Regions from separate parts of the Homo sapiens genome. Here region 2 is linked to region 1. Evidence: promoter capture Hi-C in human tissues and cell types (Jung and others, 2019). All regions are on one chromosome and are shown on one strand. Each heading gives the region's core, a stretch centred on a gene start or on the middle of the fragment in contact. The rest is flanking DNA. Distances are from core to core; before and after follow the strand shown. Region 1 overlaps ZNF343 (zinc finger protein 343). Region 2 holds the start of C20orf141 (chromosome 20 open reading frame 141).

Region 1 (4,531 bases), core at 911-3,410:
TACTTTCCTAGTAAGGCGTAGGGATTAGAATCATAGTGAGTATACATGGGGTCCCTTTAACAGGGTGTTAAGTGTAAGGAGCTTTTGGTTCCAGTGTTTGACACAAAATAGACACAAATGAGATTTCTTCTCCTACTGAAATGCTTCTCAGTGATGTAGGGTGTTACATCACTGCCGTATATATATTCAGACTGCAGTCTGAATGACTTGGTATGCTTCTAGATAATCCAAAAAGATGGCAGCGAATCACAGTCAAAATATCAAGGCAAAAAGTTCACGTCACAAAGTACCAGAATGACCACAAGTCTTATAAGAGATGACGGGTCAGAAATAGAAACAAATAATGAGTTACTTTGAGAACCCAAGTAAACCAAACAGACTCAGGGAGTGCTCAGTGACAGCAAGCAGAGCCTGACAGCTGCTGAGAGCCTCACCCATGGCAAGGCTGCCAGACAAGCAGCTTTGAGCACATACGGCTCAGTCTACACACAGCTGTGTTCCTCTGGCAGTCCAGCAGTTCCAGCACTGGTCGGTGCCTTGTCAGAGCAACCAAAGGGAAAACACATTGTCAAAAACTAAAACAAAGACCACAAAAGGTCAAAAAATCAAATGGCACAAATCATTTACTTAACAGGAAAGGAGACACAGCAGTGAAGAAATTCACTGTATAGTTTGGCAAGGGGGAAAAATAAAAGGTTTTACTGTTAGGGAGCAGTTTCATGATGGTTATGCTAATTAAGGTTTGAAAACTAGCATTCCAGATAGGATAGGATGAGTTTTTAAGGACAGATACAGTTGATTATAAAGATTCCAGTGTTCATTAGTTAGGCAGAAGTCTTCAGTTAGGCCCAGTAGGGTCTGGGGCCAAGTACGTGGTCATTTCTCAGCATCAGTTGGATAGATCATGTTGTGATGAAATGCAACATCTAGTTTTGATATTTTGTAGGCAGGTGCTGCTGTAAATGAAAAGTTTTTCTTTTTACTGATTTATGAAAAGTGGAAAGAAAGGCAGATTTTGTTGTTTTGGCTTGGTGCCAGAATCCTAAAATCATGGACCATGTCTTTCTTGTTCATTACTGAATTCATAATACTTAGTAGAGAACCTAGTACTTTGGCATTTTCTAATAAGTCTTTGTTTACAGGTGGGCAGCCTGAAATTTATATTTGTTTTATATACAATAATTTCTTTAACCAGTATTCCATACACTTTCTCCTACATTCGGAAGCCCTCCAGAATGAGGGACTTTTTATGTCTATCAGACCCTTTTTTATATAATAAGAAAAGTCATGAAGGAGATTTCCACATGTGTCATAGAGACCACTATCTCCAAGCAGAACAAAGAGCTGTGGACAGTATATACCAATGTGAATGTCTATGGCTTAGGAGAAGGCTAACTATGATTGAAGCTGTTTACAGAGCAGAATACTCACTTGAGAGGTTCCTGGTTTCTCAAGATATTTTTGTTATGGATTTTCTGGATTGCAATAGAAAATGTGATGGAATGTAAAGGAATCATTGTTCAGAAGCAAATTGTGTTATACTTATATTATCAATTATAGGCATGGCAGTAAAACATTCTCTGTCCTAAGACAAGGCAGAACAACTCAGCAGCCCTACTTATGGCTACTCTAACAGAAAACTTTCATTCTTCAGCAGAACCAAAGCCAGAAATCTACACTTGTTCCTCCTGCCTTCTGGCCTTCTCCTGTCAGCAGTTCCTCAGTCAACATGTACTTCAGATCTTCCTGGGCTTATGTGCAGAAAATCACTTCCATCCAGGGAATTCTAGCCCAGGGCATTGGAAACAGCAGGGGCAGCAGTATTCCCATGTAAGCTGTTGGTTTGAAAATGCAGAAGGTCAGGAGAGAGGAGGTGGCTCCAAACCCTGGTCTGCAAGGACAGAGGAGAGAGAAACCTCAAGGGCATTCCCCAGCCCACTCCAAAGACAGTCAGCAAGTCCTAGAAAAGGCAACATGGTGGTAGAAACAGAGCCCAGCTCAGCCCAAAGACCAAACCCTGTGCAGCTAGACAAAGGCTTGAAGGAATTAGAAACCTTGAGATTTGGAGCAATCAACTGTAGAGAGTATGAACCGGACCATAACCTGGAATCAAACTTTATTACAAACCCGAGGACCCTCTTAGGGAAGAAGCCCTACATTTGCAGTGATTGTGGGCGAAGCTTTAAAGATAGATCAACCCTCATCAGACACCATCGTATACACTCGATGGAGAAGCCTTATGTGTGCAGTGAGTGCGGGCGAGGTTTTAGCCAGAAGTCCAACCTCAGCAGACACCAGAGAACACATTCAGAAGAGAAGCCTTATTTGTGCAGGGAGTGTGGGCAAAGCTTTAGAAGTAAGTCCATCCTCAATAGACATCAGTGGACTCACTCAGAGGAGAAGCCCTATGTTTGCAGCGAGTGTGGGCGAGGCTTTAGCGAGAAGTCATCCTTCATCAGACACCAGAGGACACACTCCGGTGAGAAACCCTATGTGTGCCTGGAGTGTGGACGAAGCTTTTGTGATAAGTCAACCCTCAGAAAACACCAGAGGATACACTCAGGGGAGAAGCCTTATGTTTGCAGGGAGTGTGGGCGAGGCTTTAGCCAGAACTCAGATCTCATCAAACACCAGAGGACACACTTGGATGAGAAGCCTTATGTTTGCAGGGAGTGTGGGCGAGGCTTTTGTGACAAGTCAACCCTCATCATACACGAGCGGACGCACTCTGGAGAGAAGCCTTATGTGTGTGGTGAGTGTGGCCGAGGCTTTAGTCGGAAATCACTCCTCCTTGTCCACCAGAGGACACACTCAGGGGAGAAGCATTATGTCTGCAGGGAGTGTAGGCGAGGTTTTAGCCAGAAGTCAAATCTCATCAGACACCAGAGGACGCACTCAAATGAGAAGCCTTATATTTGCAGGGAATGTGGGCGAGGCTTTTGTGACAAGTCAACCCTCATTGTACATGAGAGGACACACTCAGGAGAGAAGCCTTACGTGTGCAGTGAGTGTGGCCGAGGCTTTAGCCGGAAATCACTCCTCCTTGTCCACCAGAGGACACACTCAGGGGAGAAGCATTATGTTTGTAGGGAGTGTGGGCGAGGCTTTAGTCATAAGTCAAATCTCATCAGACACCAGAGGACACACTGACGGGAGAAACCTGTGTATGCAGGGGTCATGAACAAGACCTGAGTGACCAGTCAAGCCTCATGTTACCCCAGAGAGACACATGGGGAGTAGACCCTGTGTACACAGATTGTGAGTGAAGTTCCAGAGATGTGTCAGCCCTTATCAGGCATGGGAGGGACACGTTCAGGAGAGGAGCCTTATGAGTATAGAGTACGGGCAACTGTAGCCATCAGTCAGCCTTGAGCATGCACAAAAGGACACACTTAGGAGAGAAGTTTATGTGTAGGGACTGTGGGAAGGCTTTAGCAATAATCAACATTTACCAGACATCCAATGACAGCCTCAGGGGAAAGCACCCTTGTCTGGGGAGTGTTGGGGAGCATCAGTAAAAGAATGGACACTCAGGCACAGAGTGGCCCTCAGGAAGGAGGTCTTTGTTTGTAGGATGTATGGGCAAAGCTTTTGTGATCACACACCACAGGGAGAATCTGCATGTGGGGACACTGTGGAGCTCTGCCCAGATGACCTTTTCAGGGGTAACACCCCAGCTGCTTGAGAGAACAGTGTTGCTGCTGGCAGAGATGCATTCCAGAGATGCACTCCGCTCTGGAACTCACTCTCAGCCACAGGGAGCTGCATGCACCACAGGGGCAATGCACCTTTGCAGGGGTACCTTCTGGCCCCAACCCTTGACTCAACGGGGACAACTCCAGAAGGTCATTCCAGATCCAGAGATCCCCATCGAACTGAAGGATCACTGGGTTGCAGACACATTGCAGGTCAGCTTCTTCCTCTGCCCAGTCCTGCCCTCACTCCCCAGTGAATCCTCAATTTTCTGTCTCGTTGTCTGTCCAGATAATTGATTCTAAGACATGTTAGGTATATAAGGAGTGTAGATAAGGCTTCAGCCATGAGTCACCCCGCAGTAAGCCCCAGAGTATATTGAATAGAAATTCTGCATGTGTGGGGAGAATGGACAAGGACTTAGGAAAAAGTCCTCATCAAAGAACAGCTTTTTTGGGACAAGCTTTACATGGGTGGGGAGGGAAAATGTGAAACACATTAGCAATAAGTTAAACCTCATCTTGTACTAAAGGAGGACACACTCAGGGAGAAGACCTCTGTGGGCAGGGCTTGTGGGTGGAGCTTCATCCCGATGTCACTCCTCAACTGACTTAGGAGGACAGTCTTGCTACCCCAAGTCACTACCTCACTCACCTCTGAGGGATTTTCAGGAAATGTCTTGACTCCCCCATGTACTCTGTATGTGAGCGAAGATGGCAGTAACTGTTAAATAAGCATTCTTTTCTACTTCTTGGAATCAGATGAAATAAAAAAGCAGGCTTTATTTAAGTAATCAAAAAATGATCAACTTGTTTTATTTTCATATACCAGTTCTTTC
Region 2 (4,534 bases), core at 1,377-3,876, 330 kb before region 1:
CTGAGGCAGGAAGTAGGAAGTCTAGGGAGGAGGATGCGTGGGCTGCAAGGTTTGGAGAGCGAGTGAGTTGAGGTCTCCTGGGGCTTCTGGCCAGCCTTCTCCCTGATAGATTTTTGTCACTGGGACCCTCTCTAGAGTCTGTGGTTCTCCTGGAAGTGGAAAGAGGGGATTGGTGGGAGGAATGGCAAGGCCAGTGGTACCCAGGTAGAAGTTCTCAGTGAGTCTGAAGCTGAGACAGCTGAGTGGCTATGAGAAAAAGATGCTGTCAGTTGCCAAGGGGGCCCCACGGGTATCATCACATCCATATGGGCGCTATCAGTGGCTTGGTCAAGCTCTGCCCCTGGCTAAGCAATTTTCACCAATGGCTAAGCCATCTGTCTTGCCCCCTCTTCTCAAAGCCCCCAGCCCCTCACACCAGGAACCTGCAGCATTGACTTGAGGAAGGAGTCCGGGGTCAGGCCAGTCTACCTGTTAGGGACTAGGGGTCTGGGCCCTGCCAAGGCAGGGAGCCCTGATCCCATTGCCCTCCCTCTCCCCGTGGGGTCTCAGGCCCTAGGCCAGGGCTCAACAGACACAGGCAGTGGGATGGGGTTGCCCTTCTATTGATCCAAATCCTGAGTGTCGCCTGGGTGAGTCATGGAGGTGAGGAGGCCCACAAGGCTCAGCAGTGTGGAGAAGAGCAGCAGGAAGGAGGCCGTGAAGAGGAGGGCAGGCAGAGCACTGAGCACCAGCAGCAGGAGAGCCGGTAGCAGGTGGCGCCACACCGCGGCCACGACAGGCCACAAGGAGCTCAGCAGGTGGGAGCCAGTGGTGAAGAGTGCATGGCACAACATCAGTGCCAGCAGCAGGTAGAGTATCCCCTCCAGACCCCACAGCAGGCGCTGCAGCGGTTGCCGCCAGTTCGAGGTGCTCCACCACTGGATCCAGCTCGGGGGCATGTGGCTCACCCACCAGCGCACCCAGCCATGCCTCGTGACCCAGGCTGACCAGGGCACTGCCTGCTGTGGCCCCTCGCCAGCCCCGATGGTATCTGTCTCCACTCGCGGCTGCTGCATCATGTCTGGTGCACCTGGGGAGAGGGCCAGGGTCTTGAAGATGCCTGGGACCTTGGGGGGGGGGGGCAGAGAGGGGGTGCAGGGGTCAGGAGGGCACCAGTGTGCGTGGGGTGGGGCTACAGAATTAGGGACTGGGACTTACCTCTGGGCAGTTACCTAAGTCATGTTGCTTCCTGCAGCGCCCAGGACGGCCTGGCAGGCAGATCCAAGTCCCCACTCTCATCTACCCCCACCCTCCCCAGAGGAGCCCCTTTGTGACCCGGGCTGGGGTGGGGTCCAGCCAAGAGAGGAGTCACTGTAGGGTGTGAGGCCCACCCAAGTCCCTCTGCACGGACCCTCCAGGCTGGCAGGGGAGCCTCGGAGCCCCGCAGATGTAGTTTCTCATGCTTTCTCATGGGAAGCCCTCCCTGGATCCCTGTCCCTTTCCTGCTTTCCCTGCTGGCTGATATCCACCCCTTTCCAAACTGCTCTCTCGCAAGTCTTTCTGTCTGGACCTTCATTCTCTAGAGCCACAGAGGAGGCCAGAGTGGCTGCCCCCAATCCACAGGCTCTGAGGTGGCTGCCACATTCTTCCTTGGGCTCCCTGGCTAGTATCCTACCTTCTCTTGCTGCCCAAAGACTCAGATCCAGGTATCTGATACCTATATTATAGGACTGTGAGGTTCAGGCTGGGAAGAAAGGGGTATCATCCCACCTGCCCAGCCAGGAAGGAGAAAAGGGGGCCTGATGAAGAAGGGTGGTCATTGTATATTTGAAGGACACTGAGTTGTGGGGAGGGGCTCTCAGGCCCAAGGATGGAGGCAGAAAGCCAGGCCAAGCAGGGTCAAGGGCATGCCACAGGCTCTCAGGAGCGGGCCCAGCCCCATGAGCAGCAGCAGCAGTGCGTCCTGGAGGCTAAGTTGTCCTGAGACTGTACCCATTTGCAGGAGTAGAGCCTCCTGCTGTCCAGGACCTTCACCGGCCCCCTGACTCTGGCCCCTGGTGAGAAGTTTGCGCTGTGGCAGAGTGTGACCTGCGGGCCTGTGGAGAGAGAGGGTGGTGACTGGGCTTAGGGAAGTTGTCCACTGGCCCGCCCGCCTACAATGCCCACCTGCCAGGCTGCTGCCCACTTACCTATGGAGCAGGTCAAAGGTGAGGAAGCTGACCAGAAGCAGCAGCAGGGCTGGGCCAGTGGTGGAAAAGACTGCCTGGATTGTCAGTCCTAGTGCCCCCAGCCATAGGACACTGTCCAGGAGCTGGGCCCAGCTAGGGCCCCAGGTGGATACAGGTGGACGCACTGGACTACCTGACCCCTCCCCAGCACCCAGGCCCCTTGGAGGAACTGGGATCGGATCCTCACGTGCTTCGGGTCTGGGTAAGCAGAGCCGGGTCATGGAGAGAGGTGGAGGTGACGGGAAGACCTAGTGCTGAAAAGGATTATAAGGGTGAGAGTAGGGGAAGGGGTAGGGCCCGGGCAGACAGAAGGGTGAGCTCAGAGTGGGGAATTAGGCTCCTGCAGAGTCTCCCCCTCCCCCATACCCACCCAGCAAACCCTCCTCACCTCCTCCCACTTTGGTCAGCATTCTGGGAGTGGGCACCCGGGGCATTGTGACCTGTTACCACGTGGGGCCGTGGGGTAGGGAGGGGGCTGCTGCTGCTGCTGCTCTGACCTCATAAGCAGCTGGTGGCCTAGGTGGGGCTTAGCTGGGAAGTCAGGGATTTCTGAGAACTAAGACTCATCCTCTTGCCTTTGCTGATTCTCTGCCCTAGGGCCCTCCCTTGGGGATCTGAGTTGTCAGGAAGGCATTCTAACCCCATTACTACTTGGGCATCTGTCCAAGGGAGCGAGGTCTGCTTTCTTCTTCCTGTGAGTTTGCAGAGCTGCAGGTCCAGGGCGAAGTCATTCAATATCTCTGTCCCCAGCTGTCTTCCCTGTGGGTCCTTCTAGGGGATTTTTCAGGCCTGAAGTTCCAGATTGCAGAGATGGGCTCTGCCAGGGGACTGCCTGAGGCTTCTGGGGCTGGGCTTCCGCATAACCTGCTAAATGGGGGTGAGAGAGGAGGGGGCTGTTCAGGTATTCTAAGCACTACAGTTTATAGGGGGTGTTATGCATACTGGGGTTCCAGTAATGAGGTAGAGGACATGAACTTAAGAGGACTATGACCTAGTAACCCCCTTATTAGAGGTTAAGGTTACAGTCTGAGAATGGAGTTAAGGAAAATGAACATATAATGAAGGGCTTAGTCACTTGGATTATCAGTATATCAGATTACACTGATCATCTGTAAATGGGTGGTGGCCATAGGGGTCCAGCACATCTCAGTTTAGTGACTTGAGAGGCAAGAGCGGAAATGTGTCATAATTAAGAGAACTTAATCTTTGCCCACATATCATACTTTGAAGGAAAACTGGTAGGGGTGGCAAAATGGGAGACAGTGGCCATACAGCCCCTAGGAGAGGAGGAGACAGAACAAGAATCAGGCTGCATATCCACCTCCAGCAGGCCTTGCCCAGAGACGAGGGTCACCAGCCCTAATGACCATGCACTGATCGCCCTTGGTCTGGCTGTTCTTGCTTATCCAGCAGCTGGGTTTTACGAGTAGATTTGTCCGTAATGGGATAGGGTATAACAGAAGATCCCAGAATTTTTTTTTTTTTGGCATTAAGTTCCAATTGTGCTTGTAAAGGAACATTAAGGTTTAAGATTGGCAATTCCCTGAGCCTGATCAATCCTGGATGCATCCACACAATTGCATTCCTGGACATACAGACCTGGGGAGCATGTCCTGATGAGTCCACCAAGATGAGGCTACTCCATATTGCAGGGCATGGGGGGATCGGAGAGTCTAAAGCTCCTTAAAGATTTACTATGCACCAGGTGCTCTGTATGCATGTATAGGAGAGTTCTGTCTGTGATTTTCTCAGAGTTTATTTTGTATTCAACAATCATTTATTTAAGTGCTTCCTATGTGCCAGGCACTGCACCAGATGGTGGGTGTATTAGGCCATTCTTGCGTTGCTATGAAGAAATACCTGAGACTGGGTAATTTATAAGAAAAGAGGCTTAATTGGCTTGCAGTTTTGCAGGCTGTACAGGAAGTAGGGTACCAGCATCTGCTTTTGGGGAGACCTCAGGAAACTTCCAATCATGGCAGAAGGCAAAGGGTGAAGAGCAAGGGAGAGAGTGGTGGTTAGGGGAGTTGCCACACACTTAAACAACCAGATCTTGAGAGAACTCACTCACTATTTCAAGGACAGCACCAAGCCATGAAATATCCACCCCCATGACCCAAACACCTCCCATCAGGCCCTACCTCCAACATTGGGATTTGAGATTTCAACTTGAGATTTGGACAAATATTCAGACTATATCAATGGGTCATAATTTCTAAAAGTAGAGCCTGAGATGGGGATACTTGTACACATGGTTTATTGAGGGAGTGCTCTGAGGAGGAAAACCTTTCTTTCTATTTTTTTTTTTTTTTTTTTTTGAGACAGAG

The links. The method cuts DNA at HindIII sites, captures the fragments that hold promoters and counts their contacts. A contact is called where the count stands out against the background at its distance.
Region 2: the fragment with the promoter of C20orf141 here is called in contact with a fragment that was not itself captured in region 1 in 1 of the 25 tissues and cell types used here (mesendoderm cells).

Annotation. Positions count from the first base shown.
Region 1 is chr20:2,481,780-2,486,310 of GRCh38, reverse strand. It overlaps ZNF343 (zinc finger protein 343), which reads left to right. Exons shown (of 6, transcript NM_024325.6): 6 at 1,655-4,494. The coding sequence ends at 3,150. Among named protein-coding and RNA genes, the nearest start is that of SNRPB, 13 kb to the right of the region's middle. The HindIII fragment of the contact is 4,668 bases long and covers 1-4,494 here.
Region 2 is chr20:2,813,079-2,817,612 of GRCh38, reverse strand. It overlaps C20orf141 (chromosome 20 open reading frame 141), which reads right to left and starts at 2,626. Exons shown (of 3, transcript NM_001256538.2): 1 at 2,596-2,626; 2 at 2,169-2,461; 3 at 1,783-2,075. The coding sequence starts at 2,428. The coding sequence ends at 1,838. It overlaps TMEM239 (transmembrane protein 239), which reads right to left and starts at 1,249. Exons shown (of 2, transcript NM_001167670.3): 1 at 1,198-1,249; 2 at 1-1,069. The coding sequence starts at 1,058. The coding sequence ends at 600. RefSeq lists a silencer at 693-752. The HindIII fragment of the contact is 18,533 bases long and covers 1-4,534 here.